Regions from separate parts of the Homo sapiens genome. Here all the other regions are linked to region 1. Evidence: promoter capture Hi-C in 16 types of primary human blood cells and fetal thymus (Javierre and others, 2016). All regions are on one chromosome and are shown on one strand. Each heading gives the region's core, a stretch centred on a gene start or on the middle of the fragment in contact. The rest is flanking DNA. Distances are from core to core; before and after follow the strand shown. Region 1 holds the start of CRTC3-AS1 (CRTC3 antisense RNA 1). Region 2 overlaps CRTC3-AS1 (CRTC3 antisense RNA 1). Region 3 holds the start of LOC124903555 (a long non-coding RNA gene).

The links. Contacts are between HindIII fragments. The CHiCAGO score rates a contact against its expected background, and 5 or more counts as called.
Region 2: a fragment that was not itself captured here is called in contact with the fragment with the promoter of CRTC3-AS1 in region 1 in 2 of 17 cell types (megakaryocytes and erythroblasts); the score reaches 6.8 in megakaryocytes.
Region 3: a contact is called between a fragment that was not itself captured here and the fragment with the promoter of CRTC3-AS1 in region 1, in 1 of 17 cell types (erythroblasts). The highest score is 5.0, in erythroblasts.

The regions. Positions count from the first base shown.
Region 1 is chr15:90,715,244-90,718,607 of GRCh38, forward strand. It overlaps CRTC3-AS1 (CRTC3 antisense RNA 1), which reads right to left and starts at 1,897. Exons shown (of 4, transcript NR_120372.1): 1 at 1,738-1,897. It overlaps BLM (BLM RecQ like helicase), which reads left to right and starts at 2,103. Exons shown (of 22, transcript NM_000057.4): 1 at 2,103-2,197. The HindIII fragment of the contact is 2,609 bases long and covers 1-2,097 here.
Region 2 is chr15:90,649,446-90,652,924 of GRCh38, forward strand. All of the region lies in intron 2 of CRTC3-AS1 (CRTC3 antisense RNA 1), which reads right to left. Among named protein-coding and RNA genes, the nearest start is that of LINC01585, 9.0 kb to the right of the region's middle. The HindIII fragment of the contact is 3,094 bases long and covers 329-3,422 here.
Region 3 is chr15:90,595,231-90,598,565 of GRCh38, forward strand. The region is part of intron 3 of CRTC3 (CREB regulated transcription coactivator 3); the gene reads left to right. LOC124903555 (a long non-coding RNA gene) reads right to left here and starts at 748. Exons shown (of 2, transcript XR_007064758.1): 1 at 661-748. RefSeq lists enhancers at 730-799, 2,967-3,261. The HindIII fragment of the contact is 4,338 bases long and covers 1-3,335 here.

The DNA of each region.
Region 1 (3,364 bases), core at 647-3,146:
CTGTAATCCTAACACTTTGGGAGGCCAAGACAGGCGGATCACCTGAGGTCAGGAGTTCGAGACCAGCCTGGCCAACACGGTGAAACCCTGTCTCTACTAAAATACAAAAAGCTAGCTGGGCATGATGGCGGGTGCCTGTAATCCCAGCTACTCGGGAGGCTGAGACGGGAGACTCTATTGAACCTGGGAGATGGTGGTTGCGGTGAGCCGAGCTTGCGCCACTGCACTCCAGCCTGGGCGGCTGAGTGAGACTCCGTCTCAAAAAAAAAAAAAAAAAAAGAAATGCAAATTGTTTTCAGTAGAATGCAATTGATTACTAAGCTGTGGATTTCATCAGTTCTGCCAGTTTTTGTATATATTTGTAGTTATTTCATTATTCCTCATTTGACTATGTGTGTGGTACTTTGAATTTTCCATTGAAGCAGTTGTAATCTTTCTGGATATCTCATTCATTAATGAGTTAAATAAAATCTCTAACATTTATTTTATATCTGTATTATATTTGATATTAAAATTATTCTTCAACAGTAGTATACAGTTATATGAATAAGCTGCAATTTATCTATTCATCTATTGGTGGACATCTGGGTTTTTTCCCTTTGGCTATTATGAATAAAGCTGCTATGAGTCTTTTGGTGAATAAAGGCATTCATTTTTTGGGGTAAATATCTAGAAATGGGATTTCTGGGGTATAGGGTAGGGGTAAATTTGATTTCAGTAGAGACTGATGTTTCCAAAGTGGTTGTACCATTTTACACTCCCATCAACACTGTATGAGAGTCCCATTTCTGCATCTTTGCAACTAAGGGAATTGTCAGTCTTTTCATTTCAGCTATTCTATGGAGTGTTTAATAGTATCATATTTTGGTTTCAATTTACCATAGAAGATTTTCAGGAGGGAGGTAACTTGAACAGATTTTTACATTTTAGAAAACTCTTTCTGCGTATTATGTGGAGAATGATTATTTGTATACCAAAGTTCATAGCAGCATTATTCACAATAGCCAAAAGGTGGGAATAACCAAGCATCCATTTATATGGATGAATGGATAAACAAAATGTAGTATACATGTATAATGGAATATTATTTAGCCTCAAGAAGGAAGAAATTCTGATACATGCTACAACATAGATGCTCCTTGAAGACATTATGCTAAGTGAAATAAGCCAATCAGAAAAGAGCAATTATTGTATGATTCAATTTATATGCGGTACCTCGCACTTACAGACAGAAAGTGCAATATCGGCTATAAGGGGTTGTGAGAAACGGGTAACGGGGAGTTACTGTGTAACAGGCAGATTTTCTATTTGGGATAATGAAAAAGTTCTGGAGATGGATAGTGGTGATGGTTTCACAACAATGTGAATGTACTTAATGCCAGTGAACTGTACACTTAAAAATGGTGAATTTTATGTTAGATAGATTTTATCACACACACAAAGAGGAGGGAGGGCGGGAGGGAAGGAGAGAGGGAAGGAAGTAGAGAGGGGAGAAGAGAGGAAGAAAGGAAAGAAAGTAAGATCTGGCATCACAGGGCCCACATTCCCGCGTGTCAGCAATAGGCTGAAACAGAAGCATGGTTTCTCACGTGTCCATGGAGGCATCTGAGTGTGTGCCCACTTTCCCGGTTCAATGACAATTTGCACCTGCTCGTGTAGAGGGGTACGGGTGAAACAGAGACCAGTATTATTAAGGGGATGGAGAGGAGAGACCGCCAAAACATCGCAGAGACACACCGTCGGAACCAAGAGAATGGGGTGCAGACGCCTGGCTTGGCCTGTGGGAACTGGCAAGTCTCAGCTCTCAAACGCCCGGGCTTTTCAACCCGCCACAGCCGGGTTCCAGCTGCCTACTTCCTTTAAAGCCTTCACCGACTCTAAAACACCAAAAACAAAGACCCAACTAGCTCCGGAAGCCCGAGATGTAACCGTAGTCATCTGACCCTCCCGTCCGGACTCTGATTGGGCTTTGGAGATACGCGTCCCTCCCGGCGCTGTACGGCGACCCCGCCCCAGCAGCCTGAGGGGGCGGGAACAGATGTCCGAGTGCGACAGTATTGGTCGGCTTCCCCAGGAAGCAGCCAATCGGAATAGGCAAGCTTCCGGCGGGAAGTGAGCCAGGGCTTGGCGCGGCGGCCGTGGTTGCGGCGCGGGAAGTTTGGATCCTGGTTCCGTCCGCTAGGAGTCTGCGTGCGAGGTGAGTACCGCGCGCGTAACTACGGGTCGGTCCGCATTGATCTAGCCCTGCTCTGGCGGCCCGGCCCGGAGCTGGAGGCCGCTCGGGTTCTTCCGTTTCCTGCACTGGTTCGCCTCGGCCCGCTGAGTCCTCTAGTCTGGCCAACATCCTGGGAGGACAGCAGATACATAAATACGTTCCCAAATGGGGAAACAGAGGCCCGGGGCGGGGGCGAACTCTGCCAAGGTCTCCCGGGGCGTCGGAGGCCGAGCATGGGCTAGGACCTGGCATGTTGTTGCCCATATACTCCAGTGCGTAACATGATGCCCTGCACAGAGTAATCCCAGCCCAGACCTCTGGCACTACTACCTCCGTGTCCCTCCTGAGGAACAACGAAAACACTTTGTACTTTTTCTGTGGCCTTCCATAATCACGAGCTGGGCTACTCTTGTTTTTGAGTGTCTACTGTGTGCCATGTTCCTGGCACCCTTGATCTTACAACTGTAGCTTTACGATATCCCAGCAAAGCGAAGTGCTTAAGAATACTGCATCAGATTGCTTGGGTTCGAATTCTGGCTCCTTCACATTTAGCTCTGTGTCTACTGCACGTTACTGAAACACTAAGTGTCTTGGTTTTCGTCTGTCATATGGGGGAAATGGTCTCTTCTACTTCCTGGCGTTTTTGTTAGGATTAAACGACTTAATATATGCAATAATAAATGCTTCGAAGGCTACCTGTTACATAGTACACAGTAAGGGTTCTGTTATCATTACCCAGAGAAGCGGATGAAATTGTCCCCATTTTAGACATGGAGAATCTGAAGTACAAAGAGGTTGTCTCCGTACAGAAAGAGCATTTGGTGATTAAGTGCTAGAGATACAGGATTTGAACTAAGCGCCTGATTTTAAAGTATGTCCCACAACATTAGGCTTTCTCCTATAGCCCTCACCTGTCCTTAGGTCACACAGAACTTTAGGTACCTCATGGCGTGAGATGGAGCAGGTGACTGACAGCTCCTTGTGCCACCCATGCAGATAAATAACACTGGTGTGTCACTGTCAAGATTAAGGGACAGGAATTCGAGAGACTGCATGAGAGATCAGAAGATGAAGAAGCGGGTAGGCAAAAGTATTCTGTTTGGGGAATAGTAAATAGAATTAATTAAATCAACATTTTGTTAGCTGGGC
Region 2 (3,479 bases), core at 626-3,125, 66 kb before region 1:
AACAGTGAAGGCACAAAGCCTGGACCCAGTGGGCCTCACATCAAGGCCTCCTGACCTCACCAGCCCAGAACCCAGGGCTCCAAAGTGCATCCTTCAGGATCTGCTCACAAGTTTCCCTCCCCTGTGCACCCCCGGCCCCCGACTACGCCCATCACCAGGGTGAGGGGTGCGGAAATGAATCGCACCCTTCACCCTGCAGAGGTGGGCTCTGAGCAGCCCCTCTGGGAAGGGTCCCCACGGATCCCAGTGAGATAGAAGCCTGGCAAAGGAACACGTGTTTTTTTTTTCTCTCTCTCTTTTCCAGACATGTATTTTAATTTTTTAAAAAAGCTTTGCTCTGATAAAAATAGTGCATGCTCATTATAAGAAATTCAAGTAACACCGAAGAGTACCAAAAACAAAAATTTCAAGTGGTCCGGAAATCCAGCACCCCAGAAATAATCATGGCTGACACCCAGGAAACATGGATGGAGACATCTCTCTACGCACATATTCAAAGGAGTTTTTTTAACCAAAATGGGCTCATACAATACATACTCTTTTTAGAAAAAGTGCCATACTTAAATTTAACAGAACAAAAGGCAACTTAAATGTAACTAAAGAAATTACCAAGCTGCAAATAATGACGCTGCTTCTTCTGGTTCTAAATTATTTCTCTAAAGGAAAGAAAAATATTAAGCAGCTGGATTCATTCTTTCAGCATGTTTCAACTATAGATGGCATCTCTTGACAACCTACGATTTAGGATAAGGAAATGAGCTCACCACCACTTCCTAGCTCCTTCCCCCTCCCAAATTTTGTGAGTTCGTGTTTTTACATTGTCAAGGTTTATACTACTTACATCCTGTCCTGTAACCATCGTTCCCACCATTGTTTGGCCTGTTGTGTGTGTATGGATTCCCTGTTCCACCGCCTGTCCTTCTAGAATGGGTTTTTCCATTCTTGGGTTATTTTCCTTCACCTCATGGCTACCTTGACTTTGTCATCAAGGAGTCTTTTCAAGGTCTGAGTTGGTCACAGTCACAGGGATGTCACTGCTGGACTGCAAGGTTGGAGACTGAACTCTGAAATGGGAGTGAGTGGGCTATATAACTGACTCAGGCTCGATGGAATTTACAGGAAAGGGACAAAGCACTGTACCCTCCATTACGATGACTTGCTAAAAACCACTGTGTCTTGAACTTGTATCTGGTGACACAGAGTTGAAGTTTTAGAATTTGGAAATAAAATGACTGGGGTGGGGTCCCAAGTACTGTGTTCAAGGAAAGGACATGCCAGGCTGCGGGACCTCAATGCCTCCTCCCCATCAACCCTTTGACAGCTGTGCCCTATCCCACCTTGGAGGCCAAAGCAACTCCCTCCTGGGTGCTAATGCGTCATGTTGACTTCTGATTAACCCCACTTCCAGGAATGCCTTTAAGATTTCTACTTTTATCTACTGTTAAGAGCACACACTTACTGTAAATATGTTATTATAAACACTGTAAATCTGTATCATAAAACTGTGGTGCTGTAAACACTATAAATATGTTATCATAACCCTATGGTATATATGCCCTGGGTCTCGGGGGGGCAACAATGTGGGGATCCACCATCTCCTGGCTGCCCGAGACATGGCTTTTGTTTCTAAGTCCCTATTAAATGTTCCTAAGCAACTGGATTTGTCAGCCTCTGTGTTCAGCCTCTCAGCTCCCTCGGCCTTTGGGATTAGGTTTGCATACACCTGCTCACCGTGCAACACCCATCTTCACTTAGAAAAATCTAACTTCTCCTTCCAGGCCTAGGTCAAGTGACACCTCCTCTGTGAAGCCTTCTGTGAGGTTTGGATTCTCATTTGCAAATATTTACTTCCCTCCCCTCCTACTGTGGGATCTCTAGGCTCTACCCCCCCATTTTTAAAAAGATTTCCCATCCGTCTAGGTGTCTCCCATCTACTTGACCCCCAAGCCCAGAAAACAGGCACCCGCAGACCTAATGGCAGGCCTTGCCAGCTGCCCCCAAGCCCCTTTGCCCTCGGGCTCGGCTACGTGATTTGCTTTGGCCGGTGACATGCTGGAGATACGACCAAACAGCAAAGCCTTGACATGGGGTCAGGAGGCCTTGGAGCCCGGCCCACTGGGTTCAGGCCCTTGCACCTTGACATGGGCTCGGTGACACGGCTCACCCTCTTGTGCTTCTGCCATTGCCACTAGCACAGCTACTCCCTGGGTAGCCCATTGGTCCCAGAAGAATGAGAGACAGGACAGACCTTAACCAAACCCATGCCCAGGAGCCATCTAGCCAGGTCCGGCTGAAATCGGCAGGGCTGCCCCAGAAATCTACAGACACGTGAGCCAAAGATAAACGCTGAGAGTAGTAAGCCACTGAATTATGGCCATTTGTTACACAGCATATATGTGACAACAGTTGACTGATACACCACCTCTGTTCATTTCCCTTTGTGCTTGAGTTGCACTTGATTTCCACGGCTTTACTTTTTTTTTTTTTTTTTTTTTTTTTGAGACTGAGTCTCGCTCTGCCACCCAGGCTGGAGTGCAGTAGTGCAATCTCAGCTCACCGCAAGTTCCACCTCCCAGGTTCACGCCATTCTCCTTCCTCAGCCTCCCGAGTAGCTGGGACTACAGGCGCCCGCCACCACGCCTGGCTAATTTTTTTTTTTTTTTTTTGGTACTTTTAGTAGAGACAGGGTTTCACCATGTTAGCCAGGATGGTCTCAATCTCCTGACCTCGTGATCCACCCACCTCGGCCTCCCAAAGTGCTGGGATTACAGGCGTGAGCCACCATGCCTGGCCAGCTTTACTGTTTTAACTGTAGAGCTGATTTTGTGGTAGAGCGTTTGCCTTCCCACTGGTCTATAAGAAACGTGACATAAGGACTACGTCTGATTCGATTCTGACTCCCCAGCACCCAATTAAATGGCAGCCAATGTCATTCTTTTTTTTGGAAACAAGGTCTTGCTCTGCTGCCCAGGCTGGAATGCAGTGGCATGATCTTGGCTCACTGCAACCTCTGCTTCCCAAGTAACTGGAATTACCAGCACGTACCCCAACACCCAGCTAATTTTTGTATTTTTAGTAGAGTCAGGGTTTCGCCCTGTTGGCCAGGCTTGACTTCCCGGCCTCAAGTAATCTGCCCGCCTTGGCCTCCCAAAGTGATTACAGGTGTGAGCCACCACACCCGGCCAATGCCATTCTTTTCATCCTTTCCATCTGTACCTTTCCAGGACAGCCCAGTCCGGGTGGAGAGGCAAAGGTCTCTGTTTCCGGAAGGCCCAGTCTGGATGGAGAGGCAAAGGTCTCTGTTTCCAGGACTTACCTGCAAGTTTGGGCAAGAAAGTTCAAAAGCCCTGAGCTTTGGTTCCCATGACTGTCCATATGGCTCATTTGCAGCGACTCCTGGACTCCTGTTTCTCCCCCATTCAAGCTTCAGATTCCTAGGAGAGAACACTGACCCAGCCAGCATGACATGGGGACCGGGT
Region 3 (3,335 bases), core at 611-3,110, 120 kb before region 1:
GAATATTCAGGCAAAAGACTTGGAGTGTTTCTTTGATTGATTTAACAATGTATTTTTTTTGGCTGGGCATGGTGGCTCACGCCTGTAATCCCAGCACTTTGGGAGGCCGAGGTGGGCAGATCACGAGGTCAGGAGATTGAGACCATCCTGGCTAACGTGGTGAAACCCCGTCTCTACTAAAATTACAAAAAATTAGCCAGGCTCGGTGGTGGGCACCTATAGTCCCAGGCTGAGGCAGGAGAATGGTGTGAACCCGGGAGGTGGAGCTTGCGGTGAACCGAGATCGCGCCACTGCACTCCAGCCTGGGCAACAGAGCGAGACTCCGTCTCAAAAAAAAAAAAAAAAAACCAATGTATATTTTTTCAGTTCTCAGTTCCCTCTTTTTCCTGTCAGTGCTCTCATTTCTATATATTAGATTAAACATTATGCTATATATACGTGTGTGTATGTATATGTGGCTATCTCAGATACTTTTGAAGTACGGTCTAAATGTATAAGCATGCATATAGTTTTACTAACCAAAATAGAGAAGGGAATTGAAGAAAAAAGAGGAGAATGTTTATTCACTTATAAAAATTATTTGTTAAGTATGTGCTAGTGGTCAGACACCGTTTTAGACATTTTAATTCACTGTAACAGTAAACAGCATGGTCCCTGACCTCAAGTTGCCCAGGGTTCAGTGGGAGAGGCTACTCAGCAAACAAGCAGCCACGGCAGGTATGGCGTCTGCAGGGAGGCAGCTCAGGGGCTGTGGGAGCACGTCGGAGGTGCAGCTTGAACTAGTCTGGGGAAACGAAGAAGGCATCCTGGGGGAACATCTGAGGCTTGAAGGATAAGAAGTAAGAGGATAAAGTGTTCATTCAGCAGATCTTTACAGAGCCCCGTCTCTGTGCCAGGCACTGTTCTAAGCACTGGGGACCCAGTGATGAATAAGGGAGGCATACTTCCTGCTTTCTTGAGTTCACAGTCCTGTGGGAGATGACAGCAAACAGGCAATAAGAAAGGAAAATGGTTTTAGATGGTAATGAGTGAGATTTAAGAGAGTAAAGCAGTTGGGAGGTATGTTCCAGGCAGAGGGAAGAGAATGTGGTGCAAAGTCCTACCCAGAAGGGGAGATGACTTCTTGTGTTCAGGGGACCCTATCTCTTATGATAGGGTATAATCTGGCACTGTATGGATCAACTTGAGAGCATAAGCAAAGCTAGTCAACTCCTAAAGGAAGGAGAAACAAAAACCAAGTTAATATGCAGAGAAATTAAAGTTATTAGACAGTATGAGTCAGATTCACTGATCATGAGCCATGTCTCTGTGGTCTCCTAAGCTCCTAAATTGGGTTCCTGGGACTGGACATCGGTTGATGCAAAGAAAGTTCTTTAGCCCAGTCTCTTTTGAGGAATCAAGGGTCCGTGAAATGGGATGATTTTATTTTGGTGTTAATCTATTCCACTTGGAGGAGGAGGGCTGTGATTCCGTCTTTGCTTTCACGACCTGCATTCTGTTGGTTGTGAAATAATCTGCTTAAAATTGTGGCCTTGAACATTTGTCTATGACTTTTTAAATGAAGTTTCTTCATTTGAAAGTATAAAACACTAGTTTGAATCTTTGTTAGAACAAAAGGAAAAAATCAGAATTATTATAGCTGTTTCTTGGCTTGGGTGTTATTTAAGACACACTGGCTTAGACAAGGGTTTTAAGGGTTCACTCCTATGATAGGGTGATCTCAAATAAAACGAACATTGTTTAACAAATACTCTGGCCTCCTCTCAGAGTGGGCAGCCACAGCACGCAGAGCTCTGCCACAGGAGATTCCTTCTGGAGTGGGCTTTGCCCTTGGCATGGGTGGCCACACAAGACCAAGGCACAGCTGCAGCTGGGCCCTGGCCTAGCCCCACACAGGCGGAGGAGAGGCACTGCCAGGGCTTGCTCCTGGCTGGGGGCCTGGGCTCGGGCACTTGGAAGAGAAGCTCTTCTGCCCTTCTGCAGATGTGCAGTCTGTAGCAGCCCTTCTTACTCTCACTCATCAAGGTTGGCAGACGTGCCGTGTCCCAAACACCATTGCTAAACTTCTGAACTATTAACATAAATTTATAGCAAATAAAATATTTTCTCAGCCTTGTGGATGACACGCTCAGAAGGAAACACGAAATGCCTTCCTTGAAAGGAAGTCAAGAGTTCACCAGCGTGAAGGGTCGTGAAGAGATGCCTAAGACCTACTAGAGTTAGGAATGATTCTCCTCTCTGGGCTGGGCCTTGCTTTGATTCTTTTCATCATAATGAGATGAAAATGTTAGGACATTGGTTTATAGGACACTGTTTCTTTGAGATGCATGGCCTATTACATTTGAGAAACACCATACTCTGTATCACCTCTTGGAGCCTGACCGTATATATCAGGGCTCTGAAAAGTCCTGCAGTTAATAAACTTCTTATCTTTAACCCAGAATTTCAAAACTTAAGTGATCACAAAATCCAACTGTTACCTAACACCCGTCTTATCTTGAAGGACAAGGAAACATTGGTCTTTAGAATTTTAAGGGGGAAATATTCTGACTTCACAATACCACATGCAACCTGTTTGCCTCTCATTTGCTGAGGGAAACAGGATGTTCTTATAAATGCAAGGACTCAAAAAGATGCCACTCATATCCTCCCTTACAGTTTCACTTTAAGATGTCTTCTAGTGGGACATAGTTAGAGGTAAAGGGACAAAAAGAAGTAGAATGACAATAAACACATGGCTGAGCAATCAGGAAGGAGCCAAATTGTGGCCAGTTTTATATATTAAATCTGACCCTGAAACTTGTCTTGGTAGGTGGGTTCTGTTAACCAGACTCCGAGCCCACTTACCCCACCAGCTACATGGAAGGTCTCAGGCCTGCCCCACAAACTGTGTCCCTGGCAGAACACAGAGTTCCAGAGCAGGAGAGAAATGACTGGCTTCCAGGCTGCCCCGACAAGGCAGTTCCTGAGCCCTGCCCAGGTACACTGACCGCACAGGGACGGGAAGCCAAGAGAAGGGAACCCTGGGCCTGCTCACCCAGCCGCAGGTCAAGCAGCACAAAGAAAGGGCCAGGGCGGGTCTTGTTTTCAGCTTCTGTGGCTCAGTAACCCCACCCACTGGTAAACTGGCCAACTGATGTCCTCTCTTATCAGAAGAAGAAGAGCTGCTCCCCTTCCTTTGGTGAAGAGTAAGAACTGTTCCCTCTAACACTCCACAGGTTGAGAGGAACAGCAGTCCCTGTGTTGATGGATTGAGGCAGTAACTCGAGGAGGAAGATTTTCCTGCACAGAACTGCAGAGGCTTGGGGAGAGAGAGAACACACTGGGATGACTC